2 separate regions of the Homo sapiens genome follow, and region 2 is linked to region 1. Evidence: promoter capture Hi-C in 16 types of primary human blood cells and fetal thymus (Javierre and others, 2016). All regions are on one chromosome and are shown on one strand. The core of a region is centred on a gene start or on the middle of the fragment in contact, and the rest is flanking DNA. Distances in the headings are between cores, read along the strand shown. Region 1 holds the start of MRPS27 (mitochondrial ribosomal protein S27). Region 2 overlaps CENPK (centromere protein K).

Region 1 (5,115 bases), core at 2,048-4,547:
CCCTTGAAGCCAGGAGGTGGAGGTTGTGGTGAGCCGAGATCACGCCATTGCATTCCAACCTGGGCAATAAGAGCGAAACTCCGTCTCAAAAAAAAAAAAAAACAAACAGAAAAAATGACAGATAATTATGCTGAGGTCACAGCAGACCAAAAGCCCAACACAACTAGATAGCATGGGGGCTGATTAAACACAGTATTGGAATGCTGTTTTTATTCTCTACCTACTTTCCAGCTCAAACAAATAAACAAATACAAACACATCTGTGTGAATTTATACACAGTTCATTCTCTTACTGTGAACACAGATCTTTACTAGAATAATATATCTAAATTTGAGTTCTACAAATTAAATAATGAGGCAACAATAAGGTTTCCAAAGACGCTTTCAAAAGGAGAACTAAGAAAAGACTATAATTATTTAAATTAATTTCCATTTATTTTTTCGTTTTGGAAATGGAGTTTCGCTCTTGTTGCCCAGGCTGGAGTGCAATGGCATGATCTCAGCTCACTGCAACCGGAAGGCGGAGGCCTTCCAGGTTCAAGCGATTCTCCTGCCTCAGCCTCCTGAGTAGCTGGGATTTCAGGCATGCGCCACCACGCCTAATTTTGTATTTTTAATAGAGACAGGGTTTCTCCATGTTGGCCAGGCTGGTCTCAAACTCCTGACCTCAGGTGATCCACCCACCTCAGCCTCCCAAAGTGCTGGGATTACAGGTGTGAGCCACCACACCCGGCCTAATTTTATTTATTATTATTATTTTTTTGAGATGGAGTATCTCTCTGTTGCCCAGGCTGGAGTGTAGTGGCATGATCTTGGCTCACTGCAACCTTTGCCTCCAGGGTTCAAGCAATTCTCCTGCCCCAGGGGGATGGTTCTAGAATACCCCCTCAAATACCAAAATCTGAGAATGCAGAAGTCTCTTACATAAAATTGCACAGTATTTGCAAATAACCCACAAACATCCTCCTGCATTACTTTAAGCTGGGGTGTCCATTTTTTTGGCTTCCCTGGTCACATTGGAAGAAGAACAATTGTCTTGGGCCACACATACATAAACTACACTAACACTAATGATAGCTGATGGGCAAACAAACAAAACAAAAAATGCTAAAAATCTCCTAATATTTTAGTTAAGTTTACAAATTTGTGTTGGGCCACATTCAAAACTGTCCTGGGCTGAGGGTTGGACAAGCTGCTTTAAGTCATTTGTAGATTACTTATAATACCTAACACAATGTAAACGCAATGTAAGTGGTTGTCATGTTGTATTTTCTTTGTATTATTTTACTGTTGTATTATTTTTTATTGTTAGTTTTTGTTTTGTTTTGTAGTATTTTGATCCGCTGTTGGTTGACTCTGCAGATGCAGAATGCTCGGATAAGGAAGCCAACTGTACTCCCGCATACCAGCTACTTGCTTACTCTCTATTTATTATCTGTTATTCTCTATGCCTTCATTCTAGCATATGCTTCATTCTAGCATAAGTAATCACCTTTCTACATTCTGGAGTCAGGACAATATCTAGATCATTGCTCAAGAGTTCTGAACTGGGAGATTAAAAAGCTGGGCCAGCTGGGCACAGTGGCTCACGCCCGTAATCCCAGCACCTTGGGAAGTAGAGGCGGGTGGATCACCTGAGGTCAGGAGTTAGAGACCAGCCTGACCAACATGGAGAAACCCCGTCTCTACTGAAAATACAAAATTAGCCGGGAGTGGTGGCGCATGCCTGTAATCTCAGCTACTCGGGAGGCTGAGGCAGGAGAATCACTTGAACCCGGGAGGCAGAGGCTGCAGTAAGCCGAGATCGTGCCATTGCACTCTAACCTGGGCAACAAGAACGAAACCCGAAAAAAAAAAAAAAGGCTGGGGAGGTGATTGTGGGGAAAGACAGGTCTCCCAAAATGCCCTCTGTGTGTAGTTGTTCACGGAAACCACATAAACAGAAAATAGCTACAACAGCTAATTCTTACTAAGGTGTCAAGCGTTGTGCATAACACTGCCTAATGTGTGACATTAAACGTTTTCACCAGGTCAGCCACTTAATCTTCAGAAAACTGGTGGCCAACTCTGAGGTTTCACATTGACGTTTAATGGCTGTTCCTAAAGAAGTGCGTGCTTTTTAAAAAAATAGAGGATGGGAGGTAGGTTGGAAAGGGAAGATAAGCGGCAATGGAAAAATCGAGTGTGATTATTGCATTTTTATCAAATATGTCTGTCTGGATTATGTGGTTAGAATCACTGCAAATTTGGCTTCTATAAATACTTTAAAACTTTTTTCCAATGTTTTCATTATCAGATCCACTATGCAGGCTTTGAGTGGGCTGCCATTTAGTTCAGATATCAAAGTATTTTACAAGTAACTAATAGCATTTATTATCTACACGTGGAAAACTATAGCAAAGAAAGGTCAATCAAAAGTTGTGCTCTAGGTCATCAGATAAAATGAGATTAATACTGAAAAATTCTTCCACGAAGACCAGGGGTCCAGCTAAATGTGTGGTGGTGGGAAAAATGTTTATCTGACGTCCCTCTAAAGAAACCTCAGATGGGAGAAAAATGTCCCAGCCCCAGGAATGGACACATTTAGGTTTTTCCTTTTTTTTTTTTTTTTTTTTTTTTGAGACAGGGTCTCGCTCTGTTGCCCAGGCTGGAGTGTAGTGGCGCGATCTCTGCTCACTGCAACCTCCGCCTCCCGAGTTCAAGCGATTATCCTGCCTCAGCCCCCCGAGTAGCTGGGATTACAGGCGCGCGCCACCAGGCCCAGATAATTTCTTTGTATTTTTTAGTAGAGATGGGGTTTCGCCCTGTTGGCCAGGCTGGTCTCGAACTCCTGGCGATCCGCCCGCCTCGCGTTCCCAAAGTGCTGGGACCACAGGCGTGGGCCACCGCGCCCGGCGCACATTTGGGTTTTTCGTGGTCAGCAAAAGCACGACCACCCCAACACATAAATCTGGCGAATCATACGCAAATTCCCTCATGCTATATAACCTTCCACTGCTCTTCGTACCTTTGGACAGGAACATACTGTTATTTTAGGGAAGGAAATGGATCAGATACCTTGTCTCCTTCTTCTGCACTACCAAACACCCCAAATGGCGTCCCTAGCAATCAGATTCCAGAAACGTTTCCTCTCCTCTTGAAAGCCCACCGCTCCCTTCACCCAAAAAACAGAATAATCAGGGGCCTAATGAAGCTGTCCGGCCAACCTGCAGGAGAGAGCTGAGGAAGAACCACTTGCCGCGCCAGGAGCATCCCGCGCCGCACTATGGAGGCAGCCATCTTGGAGCGTACCAAAAGGAACAGCCAACGGGTTACGGACAGAGGAAGGGGCGGGGTTACAGCTCGACCTCTCGGGGCGCCCAGAATTGGACGAATCCCTTTTGTCGCTCTCGACGACAGGACCGACGCTCCGCCTCCTCGCCCCGGTTCCAGTAGTTGGTATGGTCCGAGACAGTATGGCTGCTGCATTTCGGCCCTCGAATCGAGTTCTCCTGCAGGCGCTGCAGATTTTGGTGTATCCTGGGGTGGGAGGCTCCGGCTCTGTCAGCTGCCGCTGCCCTCTCGGAGGTATCCGCGGCTTTAGCCTAGGGAAGGAGGGGAGGGATGGGAGAGAAGGGAGTGTTAGATCCCAGCTAGCATCTCTGTGGAGCAGCCACAGCTCCTAAGTCACTCACTGGCCTGGAGCGCACCCTCGCCCTCTAGTTGCACGTGGGTGCAGTGGTGACCACTGGGGGTCGTGGATACCCCCAGTGCCTGCAAATCGAAGGACTGCTGGGGTATTGACCTTGGGGCTGTAGTGCTCCCTCAGATGGGGCGACGTTCGTCTTCAGGAACATCCCTCCCGCCTTGGGTGACTTTTATTTATTTATTTATTTATTTTTGAGACGAAGTCTTGCTCTGTCGCCCAAGCTGGAGTGCGGTGGCGCGATCTCGGCTCACTGCAGCCTCCGCCTCCCGGGTTCAAGCGATTCTCCTGCCTCAGCTTTCCGAGTAGTTGGGACTACAGGCGTGCGCCACCACGCCCGGGTAATTTTTTGTATTTTTAGTAGAGACGGGTTTCACTATGTTGGCCAGGCTGGTTTCGAACTCCTGACCTCGTGGTCCACCCGCCTCGGCCTCCCAAAGTGCTGGGATTATAGGAGTGAGCCACCGCGCCCGGCCTTTTTCTTTTCTGCAGAGTTTGGAAGCAGAGGTCTTATGGAGTCTCAGTTCTGCTAACAATCTAAAAGACTTAACGGCACGTTTCTTCATTTTTCAAAACTATCCTCTAACATCTCTATGAAGAGAGTTAAATCTGAAGATGCTAGTGAGTGATAGTAAAAATGTTTGTCAGGCATTACTTTAATGTAGTTTACATACATTAATTCCTTTTCTCTAGACAACACCCAGCAAGAGAAGTACCATTCTTTTCTCCATTTACAGAGGAGGAACAAGGTTAAGTAATTTGCCCAAAGTCAGAGGGAACTGTTAGAGGTGGGATTTGAACACACCCAACAATAGAAACCTGCTCCTAACCACTTCACTGGACTGCCTTTCTGTAAATAAATAGCAACTTTTATTGTTACCTTGTTACTGCAGCTCACAGAACTCTGTTAGTGCGTGATTCTTCGGCCACGCTTGGTCCGTTTTATCTCATGCACAGCCAAGGATCCTAAAGAAAGGATGATGTTTCCCAAATCTACTAAGCTGTGATCAATGATTTCCATGTATCTCAAATGTATTTTGAGTCCACATCTGAGAGGCCTTAACCCCCTCATTTCACAGAGGACAAAACTGGGAGTTCCAGTGGTCATGCTGCAGCTTTTTCCACTACACTGTGCTTCTCCCTGGATAAACCAAAACTAAATATGCCTGTTTTGCATTTAAATGTTATTAGTTTTTTTTTTAAATGCCCTTGATACCCTTAACCGATGGCAAATGCCCATTTGTACTTCAAATCCCAACTTCCTGTCAACCAGTCCCCACACAGGTTTATCACTAGCTACGGTTAATCACTAGCTTCTTTCACACACACAAATAAAACCTGTTTTGCTGAGGATTTGCATTCTCTGGTAGTTCAGAAATTGTTTTTCCCAGGATTTATATTTGTACAGTTTGTACAGTTATATTTGTACC
Region 2 (4,578 bases), core at 929-3,428, 6.8 Mb before region 1:
GAAGCAGGAAAACCAATTAGAAAGCTACTGCAATGACCCAAGCAAGATGTAGACCAGGATAATATTGATAGAAGCAGCACAGAATGTCCCATTCTGGATATATTTTCAAGATGGAGCCAACAGAATTTCTTAACAGCATGTATATGGACTGTCAGAGAGAAGTGAATTATTACGTTGCCAGTTACTGAGGTGAGAAAGATGGTAAAAGAAACAGATTTGGCAAACATGGGAGAAGTGCTGATTAAAAACTCAGTTTAGGATATGCTACATTTGAGGTGTCAATTATTGGAGCTGCTGATTAAGCAATTAGATATACATGTCTGCAGTTGAAAGCAAAGTTTTGAGCTAGCAATATGAATTTGACAGCCATCATCACACAGATAAGACTTACACACTACATAATGACATTTTGGTCAATCACAGACTGCACATATAACAGTGGTTCCAATGGAGCTGAAAAATTCCTATTGCCTACTGATGTCTTGATGATCCTGACCTTGCCTTAGGCCTAGGCTAATGTGTTTGTGTCTTCGTTCTTAACAAAGAAATTAAAAAAGTAAAAAATAAAAATAAATAAATTAGCTAGAAAAAAAGACATAAAATATGCCAGGTGCAGTGACTCACACCTGTAATCACAACACTTTGGGAGGCCAAGGTCGTAGGATCACTTGAGTTCAGGAGTTCCAGAACAGCCTGGCAACAAAGTAAGACCCCTATCTCTATAAAAAAATTTTAAAAATTAGCTGGGTGAGGTGGCCCAGTCCTGTAGCCCAAGCTGCTCAGGAGGCAGGGGCAGGAAGATCGCTTGAGTCCAGGAGTTCAAGGTTATAGTAAGCTATGATCACACCACTGCATTTCAGCCTGGGTGACAGAGACAAACTCTGTCTCTAAATTAGAAAATAAAAAAAGAAAGAAAATATTGTTGCACAGTTATACAACATGTTTATGTTTTAAGCTGTTTTTATGAAAGAGTTGATATGTTAAAAAATTAAAAAGATAAAGCAAAAAACTTACAGCAAGCTAAGGTTAATTTATTATTGAATAATTAAAAAAATAAATTTAGTATAGCCTAAGTGTACAGTATTTACAAAGTCTACAGTAGGGTACAGTAATGTCCTAGGCCTTCATATCTTCTCACAACTCACTGACTCATCTAGAGCAACTTCTAGTCCTATAAGCTACATTCATGGTAAAAGCCCTAGACAGGTGTTCCACTTTTTGTCTTTCATACCATTTTTTTTACTGTACCGTTTCTATGTTTAGAAATGTTTAAATACAAAAATACCATTCTGTTACAATTACCTACGGTATTCAGCCTAGGTATGTAGTAGGTTATACCATCTAGGTTTGTGCTCACATGATGAAATCATCTAACAATGCATTTCTCAACACATATCCCCGTTGTTAAGTGACACATGACTGTACTTACAGTTGTGAGGATAGGTGAAATAAGAAAAGGAAGAGTGTGCAGCTAGAAATGAGAAGATCTTCAGGCCAGGAGCTATTGAGGTAAGAACCAACTGAATAGTCTGAGAAGGAGCACTCAGTAAGTTAAGAGGAAAATCAAGAGCATGATACCCTGAAATCCAAGAATGTATTCAAGGAAGGAATGATAACTGTCAAACACTGGAGACAGGTCAAGTAAATTACAGAGAATTGACAATTTATTTAGTAATATAGAGGAGCAAACTGTTTTTTCTAAAAATACTCACAGCAATATTTCATCATTCCCCATCAAGAGACAGAGTCTTTTTCCTCTCCCCCTGAAACTGAGTGTGACTTTGTGGCTGTCTTTATAAAGAGAATACAATGAAAATGACACCACATGACTTTCAAGACTAAGTCATAAAAGGCAATATAGCTAACTTCTGGCTTTCTGTGTCTTGGAACACTCACCCTTGCAACCCAGGCACCATGTTATGCGAAAGCCCAAAGTAGCACAAAAGGAAGAGATCAACATAAAGTCCATGAGGAAAGGAACTGAGGTTCCCAGACAAACGCTGGTATCAACTCCCAGACATACACACGATCATTTCTGACAATTAAGCCCCTAGGCTTTGATCTTCTAGCCAAGGCTCCAGATACTGTGGAACAGAGAAGCTGCTCCTGCTGTGTCTTGTCTGAATTTCTAATGCACAAAACTCATGAGCGTAATAAATAGTTGTTTTACACCTCTACATTCTGGGGTAATTTATCACAACAATTTTCTTGGAGTAAACATACAAAAATGAAGGCCACAGATAACCTTCATAGGAGTAGTTTTAGAAGAATGGCAAGAATAAAAATCTGATTGGAGTGGATTCAAGAAAGAATGGAAGGCAAGGAATTAAAAATATTAAGTATATGAAACGTTTTCAAGAACGTTTTCTCTAGCCAGGCATGGCAGCACATGCCTGTATTCCAAGGTATTCAGGAGCTGAGGTGAGAGGATCACTTGAGCCCGGTGAACCCAGGAGACTGAGGCTGCAGTGAGCCACAATCACACAACTGCACTCCACCCTGGGTGACAAAGCAAGACCGTTAAGACCATACCAAAAACAAACAAACAAAACAAACAAAAAGAAAACACACACACACACATTTTTTTTTCTTTAAAGCACAAGAGAGAAATACAGTTAGTAGCTGGAGGGAGATATAGGGTTAAAAGAGACTTTTTCTTTTTTAAAGATGGGAGAAAATATAGCATCTTTATACGGTACAGTAAAAGAAGGAAATGTTGCTAATACAAGAGAGAAAGGGGAGAAGAAAGAATGGGATCTAGTACATAAGTAGAGGTGTTGGCTTAAGATAAATGGACATGCAGTTCATCCATTTTAATGGGAGGGTCATCAGAATATCAAGAGTGTAGATGCAGGTAGGTAAGTAGACGTGTTGCTAGGAACTTGTAGAAATTCTATGTGGATTGTTTCTCTTTTCTCCGTAAAATGGTAACTACGGTTATCAGCTATGAAAGGATGGGAAGAAAGTACTGCGAGTTTAAGAGCACAGGAAAAGAGATGTATAAAACAGATATATAAAAAAATGGGAGAGGATAAAGTTACAGGATTATTCAGTAGTAGCATTACAGGCTCACCTGAGATTAGTATCATGAGTTTAAAGTAAAACCAGAGCATGGTTGTATGTTTTCTTCTATGGTGTAGCACCACAGGTACAGACAGGGACAAAGTGAAAGAATGGCCATAGGAATAAGTAGCTAAGACAAGAGAGAACATAATCACTAGGGGAAAGAAGGTCAAGAAAAAGAGAGGCCAAGTTATTGGATCATCTATAAGGATATTAAAATCACTAAGAATTATGATAGTAGTACTGCAAAGGGCAATGAGCCAGGAGCTAAAAATCTTCAAGGAATGAGGGTGAGTAAAACAATCTTGCTAGATGATTCCTGCAAAGAATGGAAGAGGATTAGAGTCTGGTGGCATAAGATTCAAAACTGGGCAATTTTAAGGAGGTAGACAGTGCAATAAAGAATGATGAGGATGTCTACCCCACATCAAACGCAAATCAGAATACCCCTCCTCAATATCTTTATTCATATGGAACTTCTGCATTTTATACTGCTTAATCAATAACTTATTAACAGAGAAGTTCTAAGGCAGACCTAAATAAATGGAAAGATACTTCATATTCATGGACTGAAAGACCCACATTGTAAAGACGTTAATTCTCCCCCAAGTTGAGCTACTGAATCTTAACCAAAATCCTGAAAGTTTTTGTTTCTCTTTATGGGACTTGACAAGCAAATTGTAAAATTTACATGGAAGGGCCGGGCGCGGTGGCTCACGCCTGTAATCCCAGCACTTTGGGAGGCCGAGGCGGGCGGATCACGAGGTCAGGAGATCGAGACCATCCCGGCTAAAAGGGTGAAACCCCGTCTCTACTAAAAATACAAAAAATTAGCCGGGCGTAGTGGCGGGCGCCTGTAGTCCCAGCTACTTGGGAGGCTGAGGCAGGAGAATGGCGTGAACCCGGGAGGCGGAGCTTGCAGTGAGCCGAGATCCCGCCACTGCACTCCAGCCTGGGCGACAGAGCGAGACTCCGTCTCAGAAAAAAAAAAAAAAAAAAATTTACATGGAAGCACAAAGGGCCAAAACTAGCCTAAGATCCTCATGAAAAATAAGATGGGAGGACATACCCTACACTATTATGGCAATGTAGAACTGGCACATAAATAGGCAAATTGAGCAATGGAACACAATACAAAGCCTTTCTTGACTTTCTATATTCACATACATATGGACACATGACACATGACAGAGATGACAAGGCAAATCAAGGAGAAAAAAATAATCCAAATAGATATATATTTTATATATAATACTGTTTTTTAAATGTATATTTTGGTCCATATAAATCTTCCTCATTTTTTTTTAACATTTATAGTATTTGCGGAGAAAAAAATAAGTCTAAATTCATACCTGAATCTTTATGTCATTCCTCACTCCCTCAAAAAACCCAAAATAGAAATCACAAAAAAATAGGATGAAAACACAGAAACTTTTAAAATCTTAGATTAGGAAACACCTTTCTAAGCAAAACTAAGTAAAATCTTTACACCAAAATTTTTTTTTTAATTCTGCA

The links. The method cuts DNA at HindIII sites, captures the fragments that hold promoters and counts their contacts. A CHiCAGO score of 5 or more calls a contact.
Region 2: a contact is called between a fragment that was not itself captured here and the fragment with the promoter of MRPS27 in region 1, in 1 of 17 cell types (total CD4 T cells). The highest score is 8.0, in total CD4 T cells.

What each region holds. Positions count from the first base shown.
Region 1 is chr5:72,316,943-72,322,057 of GRCh38, forward strand. It overlaps MRPS27 (mitochondrial ribosomal protein S27), which reads right to left and starts at 3,298. Exons shown (of 11, transcript NM_015084.3): 1 at 3,207-3,298. The coding sequence starts at 3,279. It overlaps PTCD2 (pentatricopeptide repeat domain 2), which reads left to right and starts at 3,431. Exons shown (of 10, transcript NM_024754.5): 1 at 3,431-3,567. The coding sequence starts at 3,441. RefSeq lists enhancers at 2,349-2,890, 2,891-3,431, 3,030-3,359, 3,420-3,629. The HindIII fragment of the contact is 19,626 bases long and covers 1-5,115 here.
Region 2 is chr5:65,555,587-65,560,164 of GRCh38, forward strand. The region is part of intron 2 of CENPK (centromere protein K); the gene reads right to left. Among named protein-coding and RNA genes, the nearest start is that of CENPK, 5.3 kb to the right of the region's middle. RefSeq lists an enhancer at 3,868-4,367. The HindIII fragment of the contact is 8,637 bases long and covers 1-4,578 here.